Regions from separate parts of the Homo sapiens genome. Here region 1 is linked to region 2. The links are contacts of gene promoters, found by promoter capture Hi-C in blood cells and fetal thymus (Javierre and others, 2016). All regions are on one chromosome and are shown on one strand. The core of a region is centred on a gene start or on the middle of the fragment in contact, and the rest is flanking DNA. Distances in the headings are between cores, read along the strand shown. Region 1 overlaps WFDC9 (WAP four-disulfide core domain 9). Region 2 holds the start of WFDC3 (WAP four-disulfide core domain 3).

What was found. Contacts are between HindIII fragments. The CHiCAGO score rates a contact against its expected background, and 5 or more counts as called.
Region 1: a fragment that was not itself captured here is called in contact with the fragment with the promoter of WFDC3 in region 2 in 2 of 17 cell types (M2 macrophages and M0 macrophages); the score reaches 6.5 in M2 macrophages.

The regions. Positions count from the first base shown.
Region 1 is chr20:45,609,486-45,613,885 of GRCh38, reverse strand. WFDC9 (WAP four-disulfide core domain 9) reads left to right here. Exons shown (of 5, transcript NM_147198.4): 3 at 3,647-3,795. The coding sequence starts at 3,705. Among named protein-coding and RNA genes, the nearest start is that of WFDC10A, 18 kb to the left of the region's middle. The HindIII fragment of the contact is 832 bases long and covers 2,208-3,039 here.
Region 2 is chr20:45,789,239-45,793,266 of GRCh38, reverse strand. It overlaps WFDC3 (WAP four-disulfide core domain 3), which reads left to right and starts at 1,384. Exons shown (of 7, transcript NM_080614.2): 1 at 1,384-1,435; 2 at 3,285-3,373. The coding sequence starts at 3,292. It overlaps DNTTIP1 (deoxynucleotidyltransferase terminal interacting protein 1), which reads right to left and starts at 1,313. Exons shown (of 13, transcript NM_052951.3): 1 at 1,158-1,313; 2 at 520-590. The coding sequence starts at 1,262. RefSeq lists silencers at 611-750, 961-1,230. The HindIII fragment of the contact is 10,060 bases long and covers 1-4,028 here.

The sequences.
Region 1 (4,400 bases), core at 1,374-3,873, 180 kb after region 2:
CACATCCCTGGCTGTAAGCAGATAACAGAGTATCTTCATGGTTCACCTGTCTTGCCATGTGCTGGTATATTCACATAATCAGAAGAACACTCTGAGGTTCTCAAGGACTCAGGCTCAAGGAATGAGTATCTTGCCATTGCTAGCTAGCAAGAGCAGGAGATTAGGGAGAGAAACGAAAGGAGAAGAGAAGCCCTTAAATTGTAGATCAGATCAGATATTTGTGTGTGTGGGGGTTCTACTCTTAGATGCTTATTCCTGCTCTCCAAGCTTCTCCATTAAGAACCTGTGTCTCTGCCAGCTTACCTAAGCATGACTTGATGAAGTTGCCAAGCTAAGATGTTGCTGCTTTTGCCTCTGCTCGAATCTCTTAAAAGTGATTTGTCTAAAAGTCAATACATCTAATGACATGTGCCTAAAACTTGTATTTTTCACCTTCCAAATTTCACAGAAGCTAAGAGGAGAATACATTTTCAAAGTCTCCTCTGAAAAATTTGGCAGCTTTAAAATTTTTCTAGTATTACCTCTGCTTTTGAGCAGAGTCATTTTGGTGGATTCATCTAGAGCAGCATTGTTCAGTAGAACTTTCTGTGATGATGGAAAGGCTCCGCGCCTGAGAAATAAGGAATGTTAAATAGGACACACAAGAAGTCAAAGGTTGATGTAGACTATTCCCATCGTCCTATGTATAAATGGAATGAGAAGCATCAGAGAAAGACTTTGGGGACAATAGCCACTAACTACATGTGACCATTGAATACTTGAAATGACTGGAAACTGAATTTTGATTTAATTTAATGAGTTTGAACAGTCATAAGTGGCTAGTGGCTACCACATTGGACAGCACAAAGAAATCTCTTTTGCTTCATTGAAAATTTCTGAACAAATATAAAGACTTTCAGGCAGAGGGAAAATCACTGCCTTGTTCATGCAATGATGCAATTCATGTCAGAATTTTATCCTTTTCTTTGACTCTTATTTTCCTTCCTATTTGGTTCTAGAAAAGTAGAGCAATAGAGAATGAGGGGGGTAGATGGGAGAAGGCTGGGAAGTTTCCATTGTAATTAGGTTCCTCTTCCACTCTTCTATTATTTATAGTTCAAATTTTTCTCTTTTCTAATTATAGTGGCTTAAACACTTGAAAATAATGTTAAAAAGTAGTCTTAATAGTGCATATCTTTTTTTCCTATTTCTAATTTTAATGGGAGTACTTTCAGTTTTATAATGTGGAATGCTGGATTTTGGATTGCAATAGTTAAATTTTTACAGTGTTAAGAAAATGTCTATCTATTCCTTTTTATTAAGATTTTTCTGCTGTTCCCATACTCTAGTTTCCCTTACCCCTCAGCTGTCACTCAGCTGAAGGCTATTTTATTTTCTTCCATTTCCTTATTTTTCTCCTTACCACTGATTACCATCTATGCATTTCCTTATCTTGTTTAACTAGAATGCCAGCTGTATAAATGGGAGGATTTTTGTCTGTTTTGTTCACCACTATATTCCAATACCCAGAACTTGGAATATATTCCAATACCCAGAACTTGGAATATAGTTAGGCACTTAATAAGTACTTATTGAGTGAATGAACTCCCCCTGTCTCCCTCCACACACAGAGGCATAGAATCTAAACAGATTAAAATGCTAAGTGTAAAAAAAAAAGTAAAAAGAAAAAAATTGTAATTGAAAATAGTTTTCAAATATCCAGAGGAGGATATTCTGAGCTTAATGCTGACAGTTAACATTTATGAAGTATATACTATATTCCAGGTCCTATGCTTAGTGTTTCATACATATTATTTAATCTTCCCAGTGACCCTATGAGATGAGATGAGTATTGATATTTTTTTCTGTAATATGGATGGGGAAAACCAGGCTCTGGGGATTATGTGGCTGGCCCAGGCTCCACGGCTAGGAGTTGGTGGGGTTGGGATTCTAATTCAAGCCTATCTGACTCTGGGGCCCATGTTCTTTCCTCTTAAAATACCCATCAGCAAATAGTGTGGTGATGAAAATTACCTTTGTATAGCCTAGAGTAGAACAAGGGGTGGAGGGACATGCATTTGATATCCGGTAGGTGGAAATGTAACCTAACCCTTAGTGAGAGAAATGTGGCGGCAATTATCCAAAGCCTGGGAAAGACAATGTCTTTTGCCTAGAAATCTTTCTTCATTAACTCATGCTATAAAAATAACAATATATGTACCAAAGCTTTAACTATAAGGAGGTTCATCAGGACATTTTTATAACGAGAAGAAATTGAAACTATTCAGGTCTTGATGATATGAGGAAATGATAGTAATAAGTATGACTGAATTCTTGTCATGACTTGTATGATGTGAGCATATTTTTGCCTCCCCTGTATATTTCATTCAGAATTGTTAGTTTATTTCCTTGCTTCTTCAGGAAAATTTAGGTAGGTCTCCACAAATTTTATGTGATTCTCCAGTCATGAAACATCTTCTCAATATAATAAGTAAAATGTGCAGGCCCATGAAATTAGTCACAACTACATAAATTGTTCAGAACTATGGATTCCTCCCTCCCTCAGAAGCTCCAGTTATGGAACAGGATGTGGTGAATCTCTCTCCCCCGCCTCCCACCACCCCCACTCTGGCTCTTTGTAATTCTATTCCTCCACCCACTCTGGACTAAAGCAAGTTTCTGTCTCCTAGGGAGTAGAGGGAGGACGGACCAATAAGAGTAGTAGGAAAGTTCTTGTGTAATAGATACTATCATGAGCTGGTTCTGTGCTTCTGGTCTTGACTCTTTCGTGGGAGATTTCAAGGGTTCATTGGAAACATGAAATGTCGTCTGGCCATTTGCAGTTCAGATACTTCACAAATTAGAGCCCTCTTCTCTGCTACTACAGGCCGCTTTGGCCAGATTTAAAGTCACCCTTTAAAGTCTTCAGTCATGATTCAAGTCTACTGTGTTCCCATAGACTTCTAGGATCACATAGCAAGCTCAATGAGTCGTATTCATAAAACCTTTTCTCTCAACTTGGAATTAGGAGGCAGCATTCCGGCTTTCACGAGCAAAGCTTTTTACCAATAAAATTTCCTTCAAAATCTTCTCTACAATTCCTCCAACTTTGGACCATCTTAGTGCATTAAAGTTTTGAGTCCCCTAACAGTTCTTGGCCATCATCTTTTCTCAAGTCCTGTTATCTATCTGTAATTCCCTCTTAAATTGCTTTAGTGCCTTTTGTCTTAGGATCTTCACTAAAACTTCTTTACATCATCATGTTTCATATGCTTCAAAATAAAATATCAGGACACTTGATGTGTCCAATTTCATAAAAATAATGACTACAACATAAAAGTATAGACATATATTGATTATCTCTAGATGGTGGAATTGCTAATGCTTGTTTATTTCCTCTTTGTATTTTTAATTTTACATATTATATAATCTGAGGATTTATTGTTTTTAATCAGACAGGAGAAATTCATTTTAATAAGAAATAATTTTGCAAAGGAAGGGGTATGTAATATGAGATGAGAAGAAACCTGGGGAAGTCACTGGCTAGCCTGGGAGTTGGTTGGTATGCTACTGGGTACTAGAAAGGGAAAGAATAACATGATAGTCATAAGCACTTTACCCCTGTTGCTTACCCTGTTCTCCTCAATCCATTTTCTACGTCTAGCAGTATTGGGAAAAGACTTGCCTTCTGCCAGAACTTAACCCAAATACACACAGAGAGCACCATGAAGCCCTGGATTCTTCTACTCGTCATGTTCATCTCTGGAGTTGTGATGCTTCTGCCTGTGCTGGGAAGCTTCTGGAACAAAGATCCCTGTGGGTGGTGTGAAAAGGGACGGGGTGCTCTGCCCAGTCCTGGGATGTCTATTGTAGCTGATCCAGGGCCTGCATGTCAAGAATCAGGCTTTAAAGGATCTCTCCTTAAGTAGAGATATTCAAGCAAGATTAGGTTAGATATTCCCAATTCCTTTAAGTTTTCTCTTTCAGCTCTGAAAGCAACACTAGGTATGTGAAAAGGGAACGTATCTTTTGTCTATATTCCATCAGCTAGCAGGAAATAATATTTTCCAATATCAGACCAGTAGAGGAAAAACCAACACAGAGCTTCCCTCCAAGCCCATATTTTCAGAACCTTTGTGCCTCAGTTGGGTGAGCCTTTGATGAATGCCAAAAGGGTAATATTTAACACGTTAATTTAGTTGGAGGGGAAGAGTCTTTTAGAACATGAAAAATGGAAAAGACAAATAAAGGCTCCTTAGTGGGTCAAAGTTTGGGTTCATATGATAAGAAAATGTGGACAACAAAGACACTGAGCAGGAGGGTTGTGGGCCAGGGAAATAAAATTTATGGAGAGACTGACTTCTTAGGTGGCATCATCAGGGAAACAAATAGAAGGGGAGAAAAATGGCTGGGCACGGCGT
Region 2 (4,028 bases), core at 135-2,634:
GAAATATAATACTTATACAGAAAAGTCTATACACTTTAATGAGTAATTATAGTGAACATCCATTTCACCACTATCAGCATCCCAAAGGCCCACCTTGTGCTCTCTCCCTTCCCTGACATGCATACTATTAATCCCTCTTTATAGTTGAGAAAACGGGCTCATCAGAGTCTGTTGATGAGAACACAGTTGTCTGACTCCAGAGCCTGTTCTCTTAAACTCCATGCTAACTGACCTCTTTAGAGCCCTCAACCACAGAGCCAGTGAATGTGAGGGATCTTAGGTATTGTTTATTCCACAACCCATCTCCTGTGCCCTTCCCCATTTTGTACGTGAGTTCAGAGAAGGAAGTGACTTGACTAGTTCAAGATCACACAGAGTTACAGAATCGGAGTCTCCTCTTCCTCAGTCCTGTGCTCTTTCTACCGGCTGTAGATCTCCATAGCCTTGTGCACTGGGGATCCCAAATCTGCCATGCAAGCCAGTGGCTGGGATATAAGCCCCATGCAGGGCCAGCCTTACCTTGTTGTCATCTGTGAGCGGCGGCCCCTCCGCTGCACCTGCCGGTGCTTTATCATTATGTTCCAAGGGTTCTGTGGGGACCAACGGAACAAATGTCACTGCGGCCTGTGACACTGGGGTGGGGTGGAGGTGGAGGGTGGGTATGAAGTTAAACCTGGACATCCCTGCTTCTCAGATCCGTCACCATCTCTCCCGCCTTGGGGTGGGACGATAGTTGTAAGGCCTCCTCCACAAAAGAGGAACTGAGGAAGTTTCCTGCCTTAAAAGTCCCGACCCTGCCTTCTGGCACGGCAGGAGGAAGGGAAGCAGTATTTACCGAGGGTCAACTCTGTGTCAGGTGATGTCCGGGGCGTTGTACCCGCCTTTATCTTCCCATCCCACAACAAGTTTTATGAGACAGGTACTAATCATTTCCATTTTATAGAAGAGGATCCTGGGACTCAGGGGGTTGACAGAGATGGCCCACGTCACCTAGCTAGGAGGGCGGCACCAGAATTTAAATCCAGGTCGTCGGGCTGCGAAAACGCCAACCCCCTCTGCAGCTCCAGCCTCCGCGTTCTCTCGCCCGCGGGCCAGGGTCCCAGGAGCCCCGAGGCCGTGCCCGGCCTGAGCCCAGACCTCACCGGGGGCGCCCTCACCGTAAGAACCAGCTGCCCCGCTGCGCCCGCATCCCCCAGCTCCAAGCCGCCCCTCTCGGCCCCGCTAGGTCCCCGCGGCTGCTCGGCGTCGCCAGTGGCTCCCATGGCGCCCCCGGCCCCCACAACTCCGCTGGACTCTGTCACCGGCCGGAAAGTGGCGCCGTGACGTCACTGGAGCGCGCTGCTCGTCCGCCCGGAAGCGCGACGCTGGAGCTGCGGGGTTACCATGGGAACCGAACCGCCGCGCCTCGCCCAGGACAGTTACACTTAGAGGCCTTGTAGGTGGAGGTCGTTGGGGCTTCCTCTCGGGAGGGCTGCGCCTCGATTGTGCAGTGTGGGTGTTCAGTGGCGGTTCAGTCAAGGGATGTTTCCCGCTGGGCCAAGGCCTGGGGATGACTGCGGGGTAGGAGGAAGGGACCAGTTTTCTGTAGGCTGGGGTTGGGGAGCAGAGGGAAGCGTTTGGTACAGCGGCGCCTGCAGTTCAGTTTTTGAAAACTAGATTTTAATATGCTCGGCCAGGGGCGGTGGCTCACGCCTGTAATCCCAGCACTTTGGGAGGCCGAGGCGGGAGGATCACTTGCCATCAGGAGTTCGAGACCAGCCTGGCCAACATGGCGAAACCCCGTCTCTACTAAAAATATAAAAATTAGCCGGGCGTGGTGGTGGGCACCTGTAATCCCAGCTACTCGGGAGGCTGAGGCAGGAGAGTCTCTTGAACCCAGGAGGCGGAGGTTGCAGTGAGCCGAGATCACGCCACTGCACTCCAGCCTGGGCGACAGAGGGAGACTGTCTCAAAAAAAAAAAAAAAAAAAGCACATTAGGCACATGTTAGGTCATCATCAAATGTTAATTATGCCGAGATCGCGCCACTGCATTCCAGCCTGGGGGACAGAGGGAGACTCTGTCTCAAAAAAAAAAAAAAAAAAAAAAAAAAAAGCATATTAGGCACATATGAGGTCATCATCAAATGTTAATTATCTCCATGAGCCAACATCAGCCTTCTAACCATAAGGGCGACTTCCTGGCTCCAAACTTTTTGATCCTATTAAGGAGGTTTTACCTTGTACCTGCCCATAGGACTAAGCAGTGCCAGTGGACACCATTAGGTATCACAGCTAACCAAAGGCATGACCAGGACAGATAAAGAAAAAAAGAAATGGAGAAAAAAGAAATAAAGGAGGTATATGTGGGCAGACTATTTGAGTCATACATAGCAACTTCTCTTGGGTTCTGCCAGCTAGACTTCATACAGTCCAAGAATGGCCTGTGTGGGTTAGAGGGACAAAGATGTAGGTGTTTGGTGCTTTTCATTAGTTCTTAACAAACTCAACTACTGCTTTTCTGTAGGTTTTTGATAGTTTCTTTTCTCTCTTTTTTTTTTTTTTGAGACAGAGTCTCACTCTGTTACCCAAGCTGGAGTGCAGTGGCATGATCTCCACTCACTGCAACCTCTGCCTCCTGGGTTCAAGCTATTCTCCTGCCTCAGCCTCCCACGTAGCTGGGATTACAGGCATGCACCAGCATGCCCAGCTGATTTTTGTATTTTTAGTAGAGACAGGGTTTCGCCATGTTGGCCAGGCTGGTCTCAAACTCCTGACCTCAGGTGATCTGCCCGCCTTGGCCTATTTGATAGTTTCTGAGTGGTCTGTTCCATTCTGTATTTTCTTGGTTGCTAGGATGAACAGGAGCCACAATTTTATTATGCTTGGTTATGTTATTAGCTTTGGCCATTAAGTAGTGTCGTGAATCCCTCCCTCTGTTATTTGGGCTAAAGCCATGTCCTTCCAATGCCCTTTAGGGCTCTCTTTGATTCTTTTTCCAATGGCCACCCCTCCATTTTTCCAGCCACCCACTAGGTTTCTCATCATCCAGGAATATTGTGTATATTGCTTACAGAATTTGATCCTCCCATCACAGGTCCCCTTTGGTAGTGCCAGGAATTTTCCCACACTCCAGCAGCCAATCCCTCTTCTTCTTGTCAGGAGAAGATATTCTTGGGGAGTATTGTGAAAGGGAAGGTTTTGGGACTGGGTTTGGGGCCATCCCTAGTCCTGCTCATACCTCAGCTGATACTCTGGGCAAGGTGTACACCTCTAGCCTGAACTGAGCTCTTGTCCCAACTCTCAGCATCATCATGATGTTAAGCTGCCTCTTTCTTCTGAAGGCACTTCTTGCTCTTGGGTCTCTGGAATCCTGGATAACTGCAGGAGAACATGGTGAGCTATCATTTGGGATCCCTGGCCAACAGTAACAGAAAGTGACTAGAGGAGAGGAGAACTCATCCCCTGCCTTCTCCCAGAGCAAGGTTGCTTGTAAGTGGAGATGATCATCTCTATAGGACAGGACTGGATGAATAGATTCTCAGGATGGCCTGGGTCATTCTTCCTGGCTTTCTTTACCCTCTCTGGACAAGGAGATAGGACTTCCAGTTGGGCTTACTAGAGGTTCTAGCTTTTCCCTAGAACTCATTAAATGAGAACAGGATCATCCCACCCTTTCTCTCTCGTTATCTGCAGGATGGCTGCTCCTTTAGCAGTGGTGGATATATGTTAGTATTTGTGTATGAGGAGGGGAAGGTGGTTGCAGAATTTTTTTTTTTTTTTTGAGATGGAGTCTCACTCTGTCACCCAGGCTGGAGTGCAGTGGCGTGATCTCAGCTCACTGCAAACTCCACCTCCCAGGTTCACGCCATTCTCCTGCCTCAGCCTCCCGAGTAGCTGGGACTACAGGTGCCCGCCGCCACGCCCAGCTAATTTTTTGTATTTTTAGTAGAGATGGGGTTTCACTGTGTTAGCCAGGATGATCTCGATCTCCTGACCTCATGATCCGCCCGCCTCGGCCTCCCAAAGTGCTGGGATTACAGGCATGAGC